Regions from separate parts of the Homo sapiens genome. Here all the other regions are linked to region 4. Evidence: promoter capture Hi-C in 16 types of primary human blood cells and fetal thymus (Javierre and others, 2016). All regions are on one chromosome and are shown on one strand. Each heading gives the region's core, a stretch centred on a gene start or on the middle of the fragment in contact. The rest is flanking DNA. Distances are from core to core; before and after follow the strand shown. Region 1 overlaps NEK10 (NIMA related kinase 10). Region 2 overlaps NEK10 (NIMA related kinase 10). Region 3 overlaps NEK10 (NIMA related kinase 10). Region 4 holds the start of ZCWPW2 (zinc finger CW-type and PWWP domain containing 2). Region 5 overlaps NEK10 (NIMA related kinase 10).

What was found. Contacts are between HindIII fragments. The CHiCAGO score rates a contact against its expected background, and 5 or more counts as called.
Region 1: a fragment that was not itself captured here is called in contact with the fragment with the promoter of ZCWPW2 in region 4 in 8 of 17 cell types (total CD8 T cells, naive CD8 T cells, total CD4 T cells and 5 more); the score reaches 8.7 in total CD8 T cells.
Region 2: a fragment that was not itself captured here is called in contact with the fragment with the promoter of ZCWPW2 in region 4 in 1 of 17 cell types (total B cells); the score reaches 5.1 in total B cells.
Region 3: a fragment that was not itself captured here is called in contact with the fragment with the promoter of ZCWPW2 in region 4 in 1 of 17 cell types (naive CD8 T cells); the score reaches 6.2 in naive CD8 T cells.
Region 5: a fragment that was not itself captured here is called in contact with the fragment with the promoter of ZCWPW2 in region 4 in 1 of 17 cell types (total B cells); the score reaches 6.9 in total B cells.

Annotation. Positions count from the first base shown.
Region 1 is chr3:27,303,428-27,307,376 of GRCh38, forward strand. It overlaps NEK10 (NIMA related kinase 10), which reads right to left. Exons shown (of 36, transcript NM_001394966.1): 12 at 1,320-1,544. Among named protein-coding and RNA genes, the nearest start is that of NEK10, 64 kb to the right of the region's middle. The HindIII fragment of the contact is 4,760 bases long and covers 1-3,701 here.
Region 2 is chr3:27,127,237-27,131,133 of GRCh38, forward strand. The region is part of intron 32 of NEK10 (NIMA related kinase 10); the gene reads right to left. Among named protein-coding and RNA genes, the nearest start is that of NEK10, 240 kb to the right of the region's middle. The HindIII fragment of the contact is 2,187 bases long and covers 1,319-3,505 here.
Region 3 is chr3:27,325,238-27,329,397 of GRCh38, forward strand. All of the region lies in intron 5 of NEK10 (NIMA related kinase 10), which reads right to left. Among named protein-coding and RNA genes, the nearest start is that of NEK10, 42 kb to the right of the region's middle. The HindIII fragment of the contact is 6,077 bases long and covers 1-4,160 here.
Region 4 is chr3:28,346,416-28,350,709 of GRCh38, forward strand. It overlaps ZCWPW2 (zinc finger CW-type and PWWP domain containing 2), which reads left to right and starts at 2,306. Exons shown (of 10, transcript NM_001040432.4): 1 at 2,306-2,788. It overlaps AZI2 (5-azacytidine induced 2), which reads right to left and starts at 2,409. Exons shown (of 8, transcript NM_022461.5): 1 at 2,186-2,409. RefSeq lists enhancers at 2,276-2,335, 2,523-3,503, 2,603-2,897, 2,936-3,015. The HindIII fragment of the contact is 7,230 bases long and covers 1-4,294 here.
Region 5 is chr3:27,145,702-27,149,956 of GRCh38, forward strand. All of the region lies in intron 30 of NEK10 (NIMA related kinase 10), which reads right to left. Among named protein-coding and RNA genes, the nearest start is that of NEK10, 220 kb to the right of the region's middle. The HindIII fragment of the contact is 1,024 bases long and covers 1,555-2,578 here.

The DNA.
Region 1 (3,949 bases), core at 72-2,571, 1.0 Mb before region 4:
TAAAGAATAACCACCACCATGATCATCATTACCATCGTCATCCTACAAACCTAAATAAAAAACCTTTGGCAATTGTAATTATTTTGACCAAGGGGCTGGCTTATTATGTCACAGCACTAATGAATGACTTATAATTTATACTATAAAGTAATTGATATTTTTATGTCACATTCATGAAGCAAGTGGGTTGTCAACAGTCTATAAATTTTTCCTTTGTTTAGGTAATGACAAATATTGTTAACAAAGCTACTGTTCATGTCTGTACAGTCTATTCTTATGCTTCTGAATGTTCCTTAAGAGAAAATGAAGTTGGTAACACACAGTTCTGCAATATCGCTGGAAGCATAACAAATACAAAGTCATAACAACATTGATTTGATAATATCTAGTTATATGAAAATTGATAAGTCCCTCTGCTTTTATTAGAATGAGCTTTATTTATGTACTGCAGATCATAAAGACGATCCAGTTCAAGGAGGCATACTCATTTTTAACTTTGGTTCAGCACCCATAGAACTGAATTATACTTTATAACAATATTAGGTAATAGAATCTTCCCATGGATGGTACCACAAGATATTATTATTAAATACTTCAATCTATTTAATTCAGAAAATACAGAAGTTAGTTTGCAACGTACTTCTAGAGAATTTCAATTGGGAACAAAACTATCCATTCTCCGTGCTCCTGACTTAGAATGTCACTGGAATTCTACTTTTAAAAGAGAGATAATGCCCACCTTAGAGGACCGTAATGAAGATTAGAGAGAAAAGTAGAGAACTGGACTAGAGTTAGTAACATGGCAACCACTTGATTAATGATATCATCTTTCAAAAACAAGGATTGTACACCTGCTCCTTTCATATAGGCTTTGTTTTCTCTTTATAGATAATAACATATGTGCACACACAAACATTTTAGGAAAATATTAGTAATCATTATACTTGGAATGACAAAATGCATATACTAATTCAAGGAAAAGGTGGCAAGACAAAGGTTTTTTTTAGGTTACTGGATTTCCATTCAGCCTTCATTATATTTGCAGATTGATGGCCTTCTACATTCCCAGCACTGTACTGGAGGTTGGTGATGCAAAGATAAATATATCTGGGTCCCCAAGGAATTTAAAAGATGAATGCCCCTGACATTGATTTAGAACATGCTTGTGACAAGTCTAGATGACTTTGGAAAGCATGAATTACCAAAGAAATCCCAAAGCAGGAGGGAATGAGGTGACACACACCAATCTGCCATCTTGTCACAGAGTCCCCAGACTTCAACAAACAGGGCAAAGTAGGCCAAAGCCCACTTTTACTCACCCTTGTAAAATATGAAGAAGCTGTTTGATGCCTCCCCAAATGCGAATTTCCACGCTGGTCTCAGGGTCCTCACAAACCTGTACCAGAATCCAGACAATGCTCCAGAGGAGCTTCAAGTGGTCAGAGTGGAGCAGACTGAGGAGGACCGGTATCCCCTCATAGAGCTTCACCTGCTCTTTCACCTGGGGCTCTGCACAAAGTAGGCGCAGCAACTCCGCTGTTAGTCTGAAAGGGGTACAGAGGGTGGGGTGAGAATCACAGCATCATGAGTTGATTACTTTACATTAAGACTAAAGCTATCATCAGTGCATGAAATATAACCCTAACATTTTGTAAGTCATGGGTCAATGTGCCATTTTCTGTAAGGAGCCCGATCAAAGCCAAACACTTTTAGCTTTACTAACTGTACAATCTGTGTCACAACTACTCAGCTATGCTGAGATAGCATGAAAGCAGCCATAGACAACATATAAAAATAAATTCGCATCCCTATGTTAAAATAAATCTTTATTTACAAAAATAAGCAGTGGAATAAACTTAGACTGTAGGTCATAGTTTGCAGACCACTGTTCTAAATTATAGGCTCGTTGCATCATCGTTGGTCTGATTAAAAACCTACTGACCAGCATTGGCAGGGCGTGGTGGTGTGTGCCTGTAATCCCAGCCACTTGGGAGGCTGAGGCAGAAGAATTGCTTGAACCCAGGAGGCAGAGGTTGCAGTGAGCCGAGGTCACTTGCCACTGCACTCCAGCCTGGGTGACAGAGCGAGACTCTGTTTAAAAAACAAAAACAAAAACAAAAAACAAACCTACTGACCAGCAAATAGGTATCAAGGACAAACAATGACATCTGCATTGTGCTAAAGACTAAAAAAAAAAAAAAAATAATAATAATAAAAGCCTTATTCTAGTCTTCAGAAACTTACTATGTAATTGCAAAATAAGACATTCTTAGAAAATGTCAAAAACACTACAATGCAGGTAAGTTAAGGGCAAAGCACTCAGTTACTATATACTCAGTGCAAAGTGCATTAAATTGATGGTAAAGACACAAGGTTCAGCTGTGCCATGAAATATTATGATGATAAACGTTTTATAGAATCATCCTTAGTCCTCCAGTTTCATACTCTAAACACTCCCCTCCTGGATGGTGTCATCCATTCCCATGATTTCAAACACTCTTTCAACCCTGTCATCATGATCTCAGCCCAGGCATTGCTCCTAACTTCCAGAAGTTTTAGCCACATGGATATTCCACAAGTACTCTCCATACTACCCCTAAACTCAAAGTCATTAGCCTCCTCCCCAGGTCTATTCTTCACCTTATATCCCCGATCTTGACTCATGGCACCACAATATTTTCAGTCTTCCAAGCCACAAGACTGGGAGTCATCAAGACACATACTCCTCTTTTCACACTCCTCCACTGTCAATCAAGAGCTCTTAGTGTTTTCTATTTCCTGGGCAACGTTGGGATTCTTTTGAACACCAGGCAGCTAGGTAACCCCACTGCTCCTCCCATCCTTGTAATCCTTTGTCATGCTCAAGATATAAATCCCTCTTTCATCTACCTCTCCAATATTCTCATTCTCATACGGCTTTCTCATTCCTTTCCCCTGAGCTGATTACCTATGGCTCCTCTCCCTCCCAAATTTTGTGCTCTGACATTAATAATAAATGTTCCTTGATAAATAGTATTCTTTACCTTCACGAACTTTCCCAGCCTCTCTTTGTTGTAAGTGGATCTCAATGTGTGGATATAAACAAACACCCCCACCTCACTCCCACATACACTGCTATCAAAGTGATCTTTCAAAAAACAAATTTGATCATGCTTAAAATGTTCCCATGAGTCCCCATAATGTTCATGATAAAATTCACATCGTTATTTATCAGAGACCATCATGACCTGGATAAAGGTGTCTTGTTGCCTTATCTATAAAATACGGGAAAAATAGGGTTAATGTGCAGATCACATGAGTTAATAAGCAAAGTGCTTAGAGCAGGTCTTGGCATATAGAAAACACTGATCAAAGTTAGCTACATTTTAAATTTATCATTAACTATCTGTTCTAGTTCTCTGGCACTTTTGTTCTTATGGTCCTGCTGTGCCCAACCATCACATTCCTCTAACACACCCAATTTCATGCCTCCATGTCCAAGCACATACTGTTTTTATGTTGTCTCTCTCTCTCTGCCTAGATATCTTCTCTTTCCTCCAGGAAACTTTGCATGACTCCACATTCTAATTGGGAAGTCTCTGCTCCATGTTCCCAGAGTACCCTGTGCATCTGTCTACCGTATCAGTTATAGCACTGTTTGACCCTCTTCTACACTACATATTTATAACTTATTCATCTTTGGTTTTCAACACCTGGTACCAAGCTTGGAACCTTGTTTGTTCAGATAACCAAGTCTATAAGTATTATCTATATTTAATGCTCTTTTATGAGAGTTTTGAAGAAGAATCCAAAAGGATTTACTATGAGTTAAGTGTCAGGGCTCCATTGCTGGAGATTTCTTTTTATCTATTTTGCCTCTTTAGAAAATTACTCAACTAAATATCAAATGATATAGATTGCAACTCTATTTAAGTACAATCTAATAACTATCTGGATAGTTATTAGAACA
Region 2 (3,897 bases), core at 1,162-3,661, 1.2 Mb before region 4:
CAGCATGGCTCTTTAAAAGAGATGGATTTCTTTTTAAAAAACAAAACCACAATATAATTATCCCACCTAAGAGGTTATTGATTCCTGAATACTGTCATGCACTGCTTAACAACAGAAATCCATTCTGAGAAACACATCATTAGGCAATTTCATCATTGTGCAAACATCATAGAGTGTATTTACACAAAACTAGATAGTACATCCTACTACACACCTAGGCTATATGCTGGCAATAGGAGCAATAGGAGCCTATTGTTCCTATGCTACAAAACTATGCAGCATTTTACTGTATTAAATACTGTAGGCAACCGCAACACAATGGTATTTATGTATCTAAACATATTTGAATACAGAAAAGGTACAGTAAAATTATGCTATTATAATCTTGTGGGACCACTGTCATATATCCAGTCTATCACTGACCAAAACATCATTATGTGGTGCATGACTCTCTAACAAATATATAATCAATGTTTTAATTTTCCCAACTTTCTTGTAAATATATATTTCAAACACTTTTAGAGTTTCTATGTTTAAGTCAGGAAGAAATAATTCCATATATTGCAAGTGGTTATTTTCCCTAAAATGCTTTAATCTTTACAGGCAATCCCTCTCCGCTTCTCCACACTCTTTCTCTCCCTTTTCTTCCCTTCTTCTCTCCTCCTCCCCTCTTCCTGAAATTTATTTATTGAAGAAAACAGGTCACTTTTCCTATGGATTTCCTGGCTGGATTTTGCTGATTATCCCCCTGATGTCATTAAACATGTTCTGTTGTCCCCTTATTTGCTGCAAGTAGATAGCTAGATCCAGAGCAGGGACAGACAAACTTTTCCCGTAAAGGATCAGATAGTAAATATTTTTGGCGTTCCAGGCCATATGGTCTCTGTAACTGCTATTCAACTTTGTCTGTAAACAAAAGCAGCCATAGACAGTATTAAGTGAACCTCTGCAGTTGCGTTCCAACAACACTTTATTTACAAACACAGGCATCAGAAATGATTGGCCTGAGGGCTGTAATTTGCTGACTTCTAATCTACAGCCTTAATCAGATGTAGATTCAAGCTTTTAGCAAGAATATTTCATAGACAGTGCTGTACACTCCCATCAGGTGGCATATAATGCCTGATTGTCCTTCTTGTGACATTAACGCCCATTGGTGATCATATCTAGGTGCTATCATTTAAACAGGGACTGCAAAACAGGAATATTCTTTATCCCTTTGGCACTTATTAGCTTAAGTACTTCTACAATAAGAAACTTTTCCTCTCAATGATTTTGTTAACATGCGATAGAATTCATAAAGGAAAGGCAGAATAAAAGCTTTCTTCTTTCCTATGTAAACAATTTTCAATATAATAAGCTGGTTACTTAGCATCTTCCAAAGGTAACCAATGAGGGATTTTTTTTTTTCTTTTTTGGTATTATGAACTCTTGGGTTTAAACCTTATTTAATGCTTTCAATTTATTATTCTTATTGATGTTCCAATTATCCCATAAATAGCCAGTGGGAGCCTCTTCAATTTGGCTCTTGAGAACTTTTGATATACTCTCAGTAGTCCTTGACACCATACTTACTATGCTATCTGTATGTCCAAATATTCCAGTCTAATCTTGTACAGTTCCTGCTCTAGACCAAAATCACCTATATCCCCAAGGAGTCATGGGTGGAGGAGCTCATTGCTGCTTGATTAGTTTCTCGACTATTTCAATGAAAATATTAGGAAATGTGTATATTTTTTAATAGATGAGATTTATCATGAACTCATATTCATTCACACTGATACTTCCAATTCCAATTTAGATGAATCTCTGCTATCTTGCTTCTGTTTCCCCTTTCCTCCATGCTGAAAATCCTAGTTCCCAAGGGTACCTATACAATTACTTGGTTGCTTTACTCCCCTCGCAATTCTAGCCAAGATTGAGCAGACTGGATTGAAGACTAACTTAGGTGAGGTATAAATAAAGAGCTTAATGTCTTAGAAAAGGCCTTTTGCACTTTTTGAATCTTCTGTATCCTTCTGGGTCTTAGGCTATTAGTAAGTAGGCACAGTCATCCCATAATGGCTCCTTCAAACTAGGGACACAGGGCCCGTGGGTTTTAGAAGTTTCAGTGAGAAAGGTAGAAATCAAGTGCATTTACGGGCTGTCACCACTTACTGCTCCTATGGCCCTGGTATGGGGTGACTGTGTCAGTCAAAGGCTAATTGGCCACTCCTCTATGGTTACACAGGGAATGAAAAATCCATTTATGAACAGAAGTTGTTGCTATCAAAAGATTATACCAGAAAAGGGGTAAAAATGGAGGTCACAAACTCTTCTCATTTAAGTTTAGATGAAGGCAGGAAAGTTACATATATGAATATATTTTATCAGTATACCAATAAAGAATGGAACAACTATATATTATACAGAATATATATTAATGTATTATATATCCTATCTCCAATTATTAAACATTAAGTACCTACCACATGCCAGGCACTGTGCAAGGCCCTGGGGAATCAAAGATAAATAAGACACACCCACCAACTTTGGGGGAAACAGAATGTAAGGTAGATAAAAAGCTATTTAAAACACAATAATACAGGTGAAAAAGTGGATTCACCCATAGAGAAAGGTAAGATTAATTCTGGACAGGGAAAATTAAGAAAGGTTTTTTTTTTTTGTCAGAGCTATTTTTTTCAGTTTGGTGGTAAAGAATAGGAAGTGTTTTAATATCCCAAGCTGAGGATTTCTTTAGCACCCAGGAGGCCTGCCTCTCTGACTAAGAGGATACACCCCCATGAAGGTATCATCCAACTTCATGGGGAGATGGCGCAAGCCTGAAGCTGCCTGTAGAGGAATGGAACCACACTTCTGTTGATCATGAGCCCTAAAGCAATATATAGGGCCTTTCCCTACCTAAAGGTCCATACAAGATGTCCCAAAGACCACCATGGGCTTGTAGTATCAGACAAGAGAACCATGGCAGTCTTTATAGGAGAGTATAATCTGCCTCTTAAACAAGTTAATAATAAGGATGAGTCTATTCCTGAGGGTTCTCTCACCCATGCTTCCCAAACATCTCCTACCACCCTACCAATTCCTGTTTTTATTTTCCCAGACGAGGTGTATCAGAAGGTAAATGCCCAATGAGAGATGCTGCCACAATACACAGGAAGGAAGACAAGGAGTGGGTGGGAGAATTTAACAAACAAAATCTTCTCTATCAGGAGAGGAAAGAAAGTGAGGAAGAGTTGCAACACCAAAAACATAAGTAATAAACGAGAAAATAAAGAGAAGCACTGATGGAAAATCACTCAGTGGGAGTTGAAGCCACCTTTATGTCTCAGACAGTTTGTAGCAGATGCTTTCATCTCATAAAACTAGGATTTCTGTTAAAATAAGTCTATGCTCAAACCAGATTATTCTGACCTTAATAAGAATATAAAATAAGAATAAGAGTTATATGACCTTAATAAGAATAAAAAACCAAGCAACATATTATCTTTTCATGGGAGATTTAAGCTTTTATCTTTTAAAAATGTGTTTATTATGATACAATATATAAATATCATAAGATAAATATCTGAAGCCTCTTCTACTGCTTTGATCTCCTTCAGCTTTGTTTCTTGGCCCTATTTGCCAACACAACCCAGGAAAGAAACCTTGCTCTCTAATCTCTGATGGAGCAGGCTTTATGTTTTGTTTACCTGCAGCTGTGTCTTTTTCCCCCATCTGTTTTTGGTGTATGTGCAGATACCAGTGATGTGAAACAACAAAGCTAAAGAATGTTGTTTGCATTTCTTATCAAAGAGCCTATCATATTTTCTAAATAATGAGTAAGTTAATGCTGAAGCTTTGATGCATTAAAGGAACGTGAAACCTTAAAGGAAAAGTTCACTGGCAGCATGACTA
Region 3 (4,160 bases), core at 785-3,284, 1.0 Mb before region 4:
AGCCTAAAACACAAAGCATCTTCTATTTCATACTCAGCCAAGAAAAAGCGAGGGAGATAATGGAAGCTATTCTAGACTAGAATCTATATAATTTCTCCCACATCTCCCACCTCCACAGCTGAGCTGATTGTGTATCCAGCAAGAATAAAGATCTGCCCCCTTGTCAAACACAGCAATTACTTGAGTTGTGGACCCAAGCCACTCATTGCCTGGCCTGTCCCACACTGATCCTCTGCCTCTGGGTACAGTTCATCTCTGTCTCCTCTATGATCCTGAGAAATTCAACTCTGCCCCCAAACCAGCACGTCTCAAACCTGAGTGAATGAGAACCATCTTCCTCAAAGTTAGGATGAACATTTGTAGTGACTGCCACTAGAGGTGCTACTCCCCACCCCACCCCACTCACACTCCACCCCAAGCCACTCACCATTCCTTCCATCTACAAAGACTGACTTCATGGGAAGGAGGTTGATAGGTAAGCTCTTCCCAAAGTCTTATACTCCTGAGTGCTCATTATAGATTACAGTCCCCCAACAAGGCCTGGCTCTGTGGAGAGATGTTGAGTAAGATGTCCAAAGAATATCACTGGCTGAGGATTACTCTTCCTCCCATCACCAAGACTCTTGGCAGCTATGCTGCCCACCACAGTTGCCATCAACACCTTGGCCCCTCCTCTGGCCCAAGCACCCTGTCAGTGACCCCTTTTTGCCAAGGGGACAAAGCCCAGTTTCCTCTGAAAATAGAGTCAGGATTCAACCAATCCCAAAACTGCCAGCCAGGCAGAATTATCCAAGGCCACATCCAGGATGTACTATGGGTTCATCCTGACTTCAGATCAGACATACCCTGCATTGGGAAAAATAAACCAAATTTGAAATACATTTTGAACTCAAAATGATCATCTATGGGGGCACTTACTAAAAATATGGTTATTCTAAAGCTCCTAATACAGAGAGGATATCTTTAATCTTTATAATTAGGAAGAGGGCACATGACAAGTTTCTCTTTCAGGTGCTGGGTTAGCTAAAGGCAGCATGTAGCCTGAATTATAGGGCAAAGATACTACATCCCAAAGATCTAACAGAAGTAATGATCAGGTTGCAACAGCTGCTAGCAACCTAGTGATGTTGAATGCTAATTACTTTTCATTATTTAAAGGAAAAGCCATGGGGCATTTTAAGAGATGATTCACGCTACAAATATGTGTACAGTTGGTATTTTTTACTGTTAGCCATATACAATCATCATGAGGAAATTTCATGACTTTTCCAGTGATTTTTCATATTAATATAAATATAAAAAGTTTGTTTCCTTCCCACCTCCCAGGAAAAAGAAAAGAACAAAAATTCCAGAATAGTTTTTTTTAACTAATAAAGAAGTGTATATAAATGAAGAGTTCCAGAAAAATCTCAGAGTTGAAATTTCTGTTCCAACCAAATGGAATTTTTGTTTTGTTTTGTTTTGCAATTTGGGAACTGAAGCCCAAAGCTATTAATATTTCTACGCGGCCTCTGCTGCTGTAAATGTAAATAGAATTCCTGGTGTCTGAGTCCTCTGGCTTCTCATCTCTTTGCGCTGACCTCTGAAAGAGCAGTTGTTCCTTCCTTGGCTCTCAGCCCTTAACCCACTGCAAGGACGGAGCACATGGGATGAAGTGCTGGTGTTCAAGGAGAATTGCATGCTCTTCAAGACTATACACACATATACACATATATACATACATCTGTTTGCCACCAGCTGAGGGACTAGGAAACACACAGCTTAGTGCAACTGGAGAATTACAGTGAATAATAGTGACAGATTGTAAAGACAGGCACCTTTATTTTACTGACTCAGCAATTGTGGCCTGGAGGAGCTGAGTGTCTGGCCCACAGCTACACAATAAGTAATAGAGCCAGGTGCCAGACTCCCATTCCAGTGCTCTTGCCATCCCTCCCCTCCACCTAAGTCTATACAGGGATGGCTGAAGAGAAAGTGACTCTGCAGATATGTTTAATATGGGAACAGTAGCATTCAGCAGAGTGGCATGGGGGCAGCCCTGAGAAACCTGTCTGCAAAGATAGTATTTCTCTAGAGGCCATGTCTCAATATAGCAGCCACACAGAAGCAAATTCATGAGCGGGCAAATATTTGTCCCCTCTTATGACTGAACTTATGCCACTGTTTTCACAGGACTATTAATACATGGCAGCGTGATCAGCTCCTGCCACCCCTGTCCGTGACCACCTGCCATTCTGCTGTCAGCATCAGGTGCCATCTTCTGCCATCAATATAAAATGAAGGAAAAGCACCGGAGACACATTATTTGAAAAGGGAAAGAGTAGCCAGGGTTTCAACTTCTTACACAGTAAGAGAAACAAATATGTGATGTGAGGGTTCCAAGTAAAAAGTCAGTCCACGAAGCTGTGCTATTATAATGAAGCAGGGTTAACTGAACCCAGGAACTGATGCAAATGGCAGAAGTGACAATGTTGACTGTATTTGTAGCACACTCTGTCTTTTTCATGTCACAGCCCTTTTCATGTTGTAGTAGTTTTCATTAACCACAAGACAAACCAAAACAACCTGCCATCTTTGACTCATTAAAAACAGAGGAATTCAAGCCTATTTCAAAACACATATCACCTCAAATTCATAAGACAGAGTCCAATTTTTTTGGATAGCTGAAAAAGTAAAATTCACATCTATGCAAAACTTAAAAAAAAAAAAACAAGAATATATGTGAAGAAATTCATCCTAAATGATTATTTAGGGAATTCTCACTGACTTATTTTGCTATTCTTAACAGGTCTTTGTTCTTTCTCTGTGTCCCCTACTAAATCTAGCATGAAATGTACACCCAATCAGAAACCCATCAAATGGATCATGTTGGCCCCTAAAATCAGGATATAAATGCATTCTTAGAGGTATTTCTTCTACATAATTAATGAAAATTTCAGAATATTTTCAAATATTTAGTATATACTCATCACCTGTGATCAGCCAAGTACTGTTATAAGCCCAGGAGTACAGCAGAGGAAAAACCCATGCACTTGTACTCATGGAGCTTACATTCTGATCACAAAAACAAATAAAAATGCATATCAGGTGGTGGCCAGTGGAGAATAATCAAGGTTAAGGATTTAATGAGTACTGGGCATGCTATTTTAGGACAGTCACAGAACAGTTCTTTGATAAGATTAGCATCTGAGTTATTTGAGGGATTGATCCATATGGATGTCTAGGTCAGAACAGCAGAGTAGTTAAATACATAGTCCCTGAGGCAGGAATACTGTAAACTGCAAAGAATAGCAAGGAAGCCAGTGGGGCTGGAGCAGAGTGAGCAAAGATAGAGCAATAGGGATTGGGGTGAGAGAGACAGGAGAAGCCAGAGCTTTAACGGCCTTGTAAAATAAGAACAGGGCCTTTGGATTTTTTATCCAGGGAAGTCACTGGAAGGCTCTGGGGAGAGGATTGACATAATCTGAAGGAGATCTTGAAAAAATCCTTCTAAATTCAACGTTGAGAACAGAGTATAAAGAGCCAAGCATCAAAAGCAGGGAGCCCTGTTAGCCTACTGCAATAGTCCAAGCAAGAGATGATGGGGGTTTGGACTAGCTGATGGGGAAGACTAAAACTGAGGCATTCTCACACATTGAGTGAGAAAACTCAAAAGTACTGTTTTAAACATGTTAACTTTGAGATGCTTAAAGAAGGAAGAGCCCACAAATCAATATGTATAACAAAAGATGAATTTACAGCAAAGGAGAGTGATATGGATTGGCTGTGTCCCCACCCAAATCTCATCTTGAATTCCCACATGTTGTGGGAGGGACCTGGTGGGAGGTATTTAATCATGGGGGCAGGTCTTTCCTGTGCTGTTCTTGTGATAGTGAATGAGTCTCATGAGATCTCATGGTTTTAAAAATGGGAGTTTCCCTGCACAAGCTCTTTTTGCCTGCTGCCATCCATGTAAGACATGAATTGCTCCTCCTTGCCTTCTGCCATGATTGTGAGGCCTCCCCAGCCACATGGAAATGTAAGTCCATTAAACTTTTTTCCTGTATAAATTACCCAGTCTTGAGTATGTCTTTATTAGCGACGTGAAAACAGACTAATACAGAGAGTGTACTTAGAAGGCCCCATTTCTTGGAGCTAAGTGGATAGGAAAATTTAGGAAA
Region 4 (4,294 bases), core at 1,056-3,555:
GGAACTGCATAAAAGGTATGGTACACACATTATCTCAAGTCCACACCAAACTTGGCAAGAAAGGTATTAGCACCATGATAAATGGGGAAATTGAGGCTCAAAGAGGTGAGGTAAATTCACCTCACCACAGCAGTATGTGACAAAACTGAAGTTTGAATCAAGGCCTATATGGTAGGCTCTTTATTCCATATTGCCTCCTGAAGTAAATCATATTTAGAATTTTCACCACCTTTCTACCTCTGAAAAGTTAGGATATTCCCGAACCTATTTCGTACAATCAGTCAAAATACTATGGAGCAAGGATTAAGTCTTACGAAGACGAACAGACCAATGCTTATTCCCCTTTCTCAATTTGTAAAATAGCCTAACTAGTTTATAAAGAAGGGTCATCAAGTACCTCTTTTCAAAACATCATCTCTTAATCTGTGTACATTAGCAATAAAAAGCCCTGTAATTCAATAAATGTCCAAAAATGTACTCAACATTAGATATACAATATGAAGAAAAACTCCAGTTCCATTTTTATGACTCTTGAGTTATCCAACAAACTGCGTTAGTCCAGAAATCAGTTTGTATTGCACAGATCAAGACTCTTCCAGAGTTAGCATAGGTATGAAGAGCAGTCTACTTCTTTTCATCCCTTTCATACAGTAATACCTCTAATGCAACTAAGCATCTACTATACATTCAATGTTACTGGTGTTATTGAAAATTATTTTCTAACAGTGATAAGGCAACTATACTTGCACTCTGAATATAAGTGCCATAAAAAAGAAAAAGATTGGTTCTATTACTTCATGGATTATAAAAAAAACTTCAGCATTTTACTTAATAATAATGACAAGGTTCTGCATTGGTAATTAATAGTAGCCAAGCGTTTATGGTATACCAAGCAGTGTGCTTCACCTTTTGGAGAAACTATCTCATTTGTTCTTCATAAGCATTCAGTAAATCTATGTAATACCTCTGAGGTTGTAAAGAATCTCCTCAGATTACAGGTGGAGAAATTGAGACATGAAAACATTAGAAAGTAGGGGAGCCAGAAATGAAAATCAGGCAGCTGACTCCAGAGCCAGCATAACTCTTAGAAACTATGCTTTGGTGCCTTAGAGTATGTATTACACCCATTTCAGAGATAAGGAAAATGAAGAAAAAGTTTAGCCTCTTACCCATTGTCAAGTAAATGGAAAAATCAGCATTCAGATACTGGTGTTCTGACCTAATCCAGTGTCATTTCCCATTATGTTATGCTGTCTCTTTAATATTAAAACCTTCTACTTGCGTAAGATGTCTGGCTTACAAACAATATCACATTAAAATTTGGAAATATCCTGTAAAGGATGCACTGTTCTCAATTTACAGATGATGAAATGATCACAAGATTGGGCAATGAGATATGGCGTTTTTAGAGAAATGAAATTCTGCCTTGAGATCTTGCTCAATCCAATTTGAAATTCCAATCTAAAAACCAAAATGTCTTCTACACATAAGGCGCAAGGGTCAATTTTAATTCTGGTACGTCTGTCTTTGATCACCTTAGCAAATTTCCATCACCTCTTGGAGCAACTGATGGTTTGATTTGTACTAGAGTTTTCGTGGGTATTTTATCTCGCTTTCGAGTATTGGGGTTTCTTTTGTGTAGAGGGTGTCAGCCTACCTTGCACGTAGTAGTAGTTACTCAACAAACAGCCGAAGGCTGGAATGAATACCGTATACAGGTTAGACATTGGAGAAACGACGAATACCTGTTAGCCCTCGATCAAGTGCAGGGGGTCGATATTCACCACTCAGATGCCCCAGGGAGTACCGTCCTAGCCAATGTCCCTCTTTTCTTTCCGATAATTTGTATCGGAAAGAAGCATTTAGCAGTCTCAATGAATGAAAAAAAACTGAAGGCGCCCCAGTAAGAGTACGAAAAGAAAAGGAGTAATTAGAGAAGTGAATGACCAAGAAGGGCCTGGACAGCTGGGGGTGAGGGTGACAGGGGAAAGGGTGTGGACAGCTGGGTGTGGGGGTGACTGGGGAAAGGGATGCCCAGGAGTGGGCCGCTCCCTAGTCAAAGGAGGGGGCGCGGGAGGGAGTGAGAAAAAAATGACGTGTCTTTTTGGACCGGCAACAGCTACGGAGGTTGGCCGCGGCATTGCCCGCATCCCTATCCTCCACCCGTCCCTGGCGAGTCACTCACCCAGAAGCCAGGCTACGTAGGGCCGCCCCCAAGGCCGCCGAGTTTCGATTCCTTAGTGTTTGGAAACGGACCGAAAACAAACCGGGTCGCCAGGGGTCACCACGGGCTTCCGGTTTCTTCGAAGACACCGCCGCTTCCACAGCGAAGGGAGCTGCTCCGGGCACGTCGCGGAGGGAGTCCCATTTCTTCTGACTCGGCAGGAGCCCGGGACGTTCTGGAAGGAGGGACGAGCCGAGGCAGGAGGGGCCGGGCCGACGCGAGAGAAGGCCCGTTACCCAGCAATACGCGCGCGAGACCCAGGCCCGCCGTCGGGACCAGCACGGGCCGGAGGGAGGGGAAGCACTCCGGAAAGTGATTGGAAGTGTGGATGAGCTCTCAGCCGGAAAAGGGGCTGCCGCTGTCCGCGGGCTCGGCGCCAGGGACGCGCGAGGAAACCGGAAGTCAGGCCCGAGGGAGCTGGGAGGGCGTTAGCGAAGCCAGGTTCGGTCGTGGGGGTGGGGAAGTGCAGGAGTGGCGCGCGGCGTACTACATGTCCCGTGAGCCTCCGCGGCGGGACGGGGCGGGGCCGCGGGACGCCAGGAGGCGGAGGCGGAGTGGAGTTAGGTAAGAGCGTTACCAGCCGTCTTGTCTGTTGGGCCGAGGTCCCCCTTCAGGGGCGCCCTCTGGTGCGTCTTTTTCACTCAGTGTCCTTTTGGGGGGTCCCCGGGCCGTGTGGTGCGTGCTGGCTCGGCTCAGTAGCGCTGTTACAGGCTTACGAGCTGACGTGGCTGGGAACTGGGAAGTCTGTTAGAAGCCGTTCCTCTGTAGCCTCTGTTTTCTAAACTACTTGCAAGCCCTCAGGCGATCACTTGAGGCACAAGCTCGACGAATTGCGTAGGGGTCTGTAATTATTCACAAACGACACCACGACTTCTAGCACACTGCTCAATTTATGGAATGAGAGACAGGGAGAAGATGCCAGAGTACTGGAGTTGCGCCCGGCTTCCCTGGAGTTGCCACCACCTTGGTTATTTCTAGATGATAGACCGTCCCTAGCTGTGGAGTCACAAGTAGTTGAATTAATTAGTCATTGAAGGTCGCAGCCAGGTGGAACCCCTGTAACTCTAAGGTATTATTGGTTAAATAAACAAATAAACAAGGAACAATAATTATAGAAAATTTAACGTCACTAACCGCCGATTAGCAATACGGACATTACTCACCACCCCCTTAAAGTAGTATTTTGTCATCTGTCCGCTTAACTATCAGCCCAACTGTCAGCCCAATAGGATGGATTTCACTCAAGGGTTTATATGAAAATTCGTTTTTATTGTTGTTGGTTTTTTTATTGTCTTTTTTGGTTTAGATTTAAGTGAAAATTTATAGCTGTTAGGAACAAAGACCACAAGTTGAAGTTTTATGACATTTCTAAAAATACTTAGAAATCTGTGTTAATGTTATCGTTGAGAAAGGAAACGATTTGCTTCAATTTACTGGGCTGGAGAATGGAAGAGAGCAGTGTTTTTAATATTTTGAGCAAGTATCAGTCCTTAAATTTTTTTATTGCTTCCATGATGCATTTTGAGAATTTTCAATTTAAAACAACCATTAGGTGTATGTTTTTACAAGTAGAGTTTTGAAGAATGCTAGCAAAATTGGTTGAGGCATCACAAGTTATTAGAAATAAAGTGGTAACCTGGTTTTTAATTTGAAGGTGTAGAAATATTTTTGAATCTTCGTTCACAATTTAAAATAATTTAAGAATTGTTGAAAAGGCAGGGGACATCATTTTTATCTTTTCTTTCTGAGTAAGTAAAGATAAAATGTCATAAATCAGTATTTTGAAGTTTATCTGGTGAGAGAGTCAATTTTTGTTTCACAGTGCACACTACACAGTGGGTTTATTAACATATAATGGGTTTATTAAGAAATGTATTTGCTTAACCAGGATGTACAAATTTTATTATTTTAGTCAAGTAAAACATCTTAGTTTTTCTTTTTGGGTTGTAGAACCCCTGCTAGATTATGACAAAATATAATCCGTATAGTCATTGGATTTAGCTGCAAATGGTCACTTTCCACCCTGTATCTGCTTCAATTAACTTTCTCAAATAAAATAAATTGTTAGAG
Region 5 (4,255 bases), core at 817-3,316, 1.2 Mb before region 4:
GTAAACTGTCTGCTCCTTTATTGGTGTAGATTCTACCCCCATTTTACAGATGAGGAGACTGAGTGCTGTGGTCTAAATGCTTCTGAACCACCAAAATTCACAGGTTGAAATCCTAATCCCCAAGGCAATGGCATTTGGAGGAAGTGAGCTTGGGAGGTGATTAGGTCCTAAGGGCGGAGGCCTCATGAATGGAATCAGTGCCATTATAAAAGAGGCCAGAGGGAGGTGGTCACCCCCTTCTACCATGCAAGGACACAGCTAGAAGGCGCCTCTGGTTACTGCAAATACAAAACAATATCTCCTTCCCATAATGAAATATTATTTCTCTTCTTAAAAGGACTGCTACTTTTAACACGATGTTCTATCTATCTCTCTCAACATTTAATTAATTATTTTTGGAAAGCATGTAGACATAATAAGCTGGAAGCATTAGGTCTTTACAGCTAGTGCTGTGCACTACATTCTGCTTTAGTATATCATTGCATAATAAAATAGCCAAGTTAGTTGCCCATCCCTGGTGCTTTGACACTTGACACTTGACACATACTATATGTCCATTCTATTGAAACTATAATTCACAATATACACTTTGAAGCTGTTAATAACTACAAATTAAACCCAAAAAAGTGGGTTACACTGTACTCTCCCAATTGATCAAAATATGGTATCAATGCATTATTTTTCTGAATTCTCTCAGCTAAGGATCAGGAACTTTTGGACAACTGGAGAAAAAAAGGGTTAAGGAAGGAAATCCATGAAGAAGCAAAAAATATATTGTTTTCATGAATGGGGGGCCAAAACACACATGAGCTTCTCTATATTGGACCAACAGTGTTGTCAAACTACAATACAAATTTACTCTCACCTCTTTACTATCATAACAATGAAATAAAGTAACGTAATTGTAGTTCAAATCTGTAAGTGTTCAGCAATCAATCCCTGTGTCCCTGGTTAGATGAAGAATCTTGAACTCATAAGGATTTCATAGAAGGTTCACCCAGACAACCATGGATGTAGGCTAAAGAGCAAATTCAAATGTTAATTTGAGAAGACCAGGAAGAATTAGAAGGTCTTCGATAGCACAGGAAATGTATTGGGTGTGAGGGAAGTTGTATGTGAGTGTGGGTTCTTAGGAGAAGGAATAATTCCAGCAAAGAGTGAAGTCAGCTAAGTGAGGGCTGCAACTGAAGAACAGCAAACTGTTCAGTTTAGCTGGTGTGCAGTACAATAAAAAAAGTACAGTATGTATACAGCTGGAGAGGTAGCCAGGGACCATACACGATGGTGAGAAACAATAAGGCTGACTGTATTTCAGGAAAGGTGATCTCACGGGAAGAGGATCATACAGTTGAAGTCAGAGGCCTGGCTTGCATTGCAATATGGTTTTCAGAAAGTCACAACTTCTTTGGGCCTTAGTTTCTTCATATGAAATGGCAGAATGGTAAAAATGGGACTAGAACCAAGGGGGCTGAGGTCATACACGTTGTGGGGTGAATCAATCTACAGTGCACTGTAGCTGTTTCCACATGGGGAGCAGGAGCCAAGGACTGCTGAAGCTTGGGACTGAGACACTGAGAATATGATGTTCCATCAGAAGAGAGAGGGAAGTGACAGAGGATATGATGCATGGACAATGGAAACTTCCCAACACAGACCAGTAGACCATTCTATAATCAGACAAAAAGTGTTTGGAAGGAGCTTGGCAGTCTAGGCCTAGATGCCCCTGCTACCCTAGCCTCCGGCAGAGTTTCTCACAGAATGGCAGGAAGCTGAGTCAAAGCATCAGCTCCTTTCACCTCTGGGTGATCAGGCAACAAACTTCCTTTCATTTGAAACTTCAGGAATAAGCTGTTTAAAGGCCAGAGGCAAGGCTGCTTTGAAGTCCTTAACTCTTGAATTCTGGCTGAGCCTCTTTTAAGTAATGTGTCTTATATTCCCATAATGGGTAATGTCACAGTATATTTAACTAACAATCTACACCAATAAAGGAGCAGACAGTTTACAGGCCTGTAGCGTTAGAGGTTAACCTGCAGAAATTAATATACTGGTATGATTTTACACCCAGTCAAGAACTTGATCACAAAAATGGTATCATTTTATTGCCCTATAGAAGTTCTACCAGTCTTACGCTTAATTTAGCAATCTTATGTCAGCCCTTCTTTCTTGCCTAACTACATAAATCTCTGTTCTTCAAATGCTCTTGAATCAGCATTTTTGTCTTCCACCTGGTTCTATCATCAATGCATTGAATAAAACTCAGACACTTGCCAAAGAACAACTTTAAGAATTGTGCTTTTGCACCCCAATATAAAAAATAATAAGTAGTTATATAAACAGAAAAATTTTTAATTGACACACTATATGAAACATCCCAAATAAATTATTGAATCCATACTGAGCAGAGTCAATTAAGAATGAACAAGGTTCCAGCTATAGTGGAGGGCAGGCAGGTATCCCAGAGAGAAGAAAGAGGCCTCTTGCTTTCAGGAGAGGGAACTGCTGTAGCAACCATTATAGAATGGTTTGGACACAGCCTTAGTTGTATCAACATTTTTCTTGAAGAAAGGGAATTAATAGAAGCTTAATGACTGATTCAATGATTAATACTCCCTTATGGTTTAAATGTACTCTGAGATCCTTAAAAAAACTACTCCCCAGACAGGAGCCAACACATGGATAGATTCTTAGCTACTGGTGCTTACATTTCTACACAGGAATAATTTGATTAGATGTCCATATGTATGTCCAAAATGGTATGGCTCATGTGCAACAGACTCCACATGAACCTAAGGTCTTTGATATCCAGGTTTCTTCTTCTTATAATTGGCCCTTCTGTCACTGTCCTCAATTCTCAAATTGGTCAATGCAACAAACTAATTCAAAGCATATTTGTAAATACTTTTAACATATTTTTAAAATCCACTATAAATTACTAATAATGGCAATTTGGAATTTGAGGGTGATGCTTTTCGCTGTTAATTCAATTATTTTACACACCATGCTACAATCATCACCCAAGTCATGCTGACCTACCTCCCTTTACTCCTACCAGAGAGTGGGATACCTTTCAACCCTTACTTCCTTTAGCCTTTCCTCCCAGGCAGAAACCCAAATGGCATGAGTGTGAGTTGCCATTTAACAGGTGATATGCAATTTGGATTTAGGCTTGAATTGGAACCACCAGTAACTCTTGTGAGATGAGTATCCATTTGAAAACACATTACCCTAAAATGACCATGAAAAAAATCTACATCTCCAAGAAGCATCCTCCTGGGACCCTGTACACAGTCGTTTGGCACCTCCCTTGGCATGAAGAATGAGGAAGCAAATAATCATTGGTAAAGGAAATTTCTTATCTCAATCTGAAATCTAAAATATATATGTATATATTTTAATATAATAAAATAAATTTAATAAAAATAAAATATTTTAAAAGTCTAATACAAAAAAATCAGTGATTCCCTCACTGCTTCTGATTACTTATGCAGTTGCTCTCAATACAATAGCAAAGATAAACAAGAGTTTATACAGTGATGGGTCTAAATCAGTTACTCAATAAATAGTTTTCAAGGGCCTGATCTCAGAGGAAATACTCCAAGGTATTTACAAGTATACCTCATTTCATTGCACCTTATTATATTGCACTTCAAAGATGTTGCTTTTTTTAAATTTTTTTACAAATTTAAGTTTTGTGTCAATTCTGCATTGAGCAAGGCTACTGGCACCATTTTTCTAGTAGCATGCATTTACTTCATGCCTCTGTGTCACATTTTGGTAATTCTTGCAATATTTCAAACATTTTCATTATTAGATCTGTTGTGATGATCTGTGATGACGGATCCTGCATGTCACTATTGTAATTGTTTTGGGGCACCACAAACTGCACTCATATAAGATAGTAAACTTAATGGATGGATGTTGTGTGTACTCTGACTGTTCCATCAACCAGCCATTCCCCCATCTTTCCCTTCTTCATAGGCCTTCCTATTCCCTGAGACACAACAATACTGAGATTAAGCCAGTTAATAATCCTACAATGGCCTCTAATTGTTCAAGTGGAAAAAAGAGTCACATGTCTCTTACTTTCAATCAAAAGGCAGAAATGATAAAGCTTAGTGAGGAAGGCATGTCAAAAGCCAAGATACCAGAAAGCTAGGCCTCTTGCATCAAATAGTTAGCCAAGCTGTGAATGCAGAGAAAAGATTTTTGTGGAAAATTAGAAGTGCTACAACAGTGAACACATGAATAATAACAA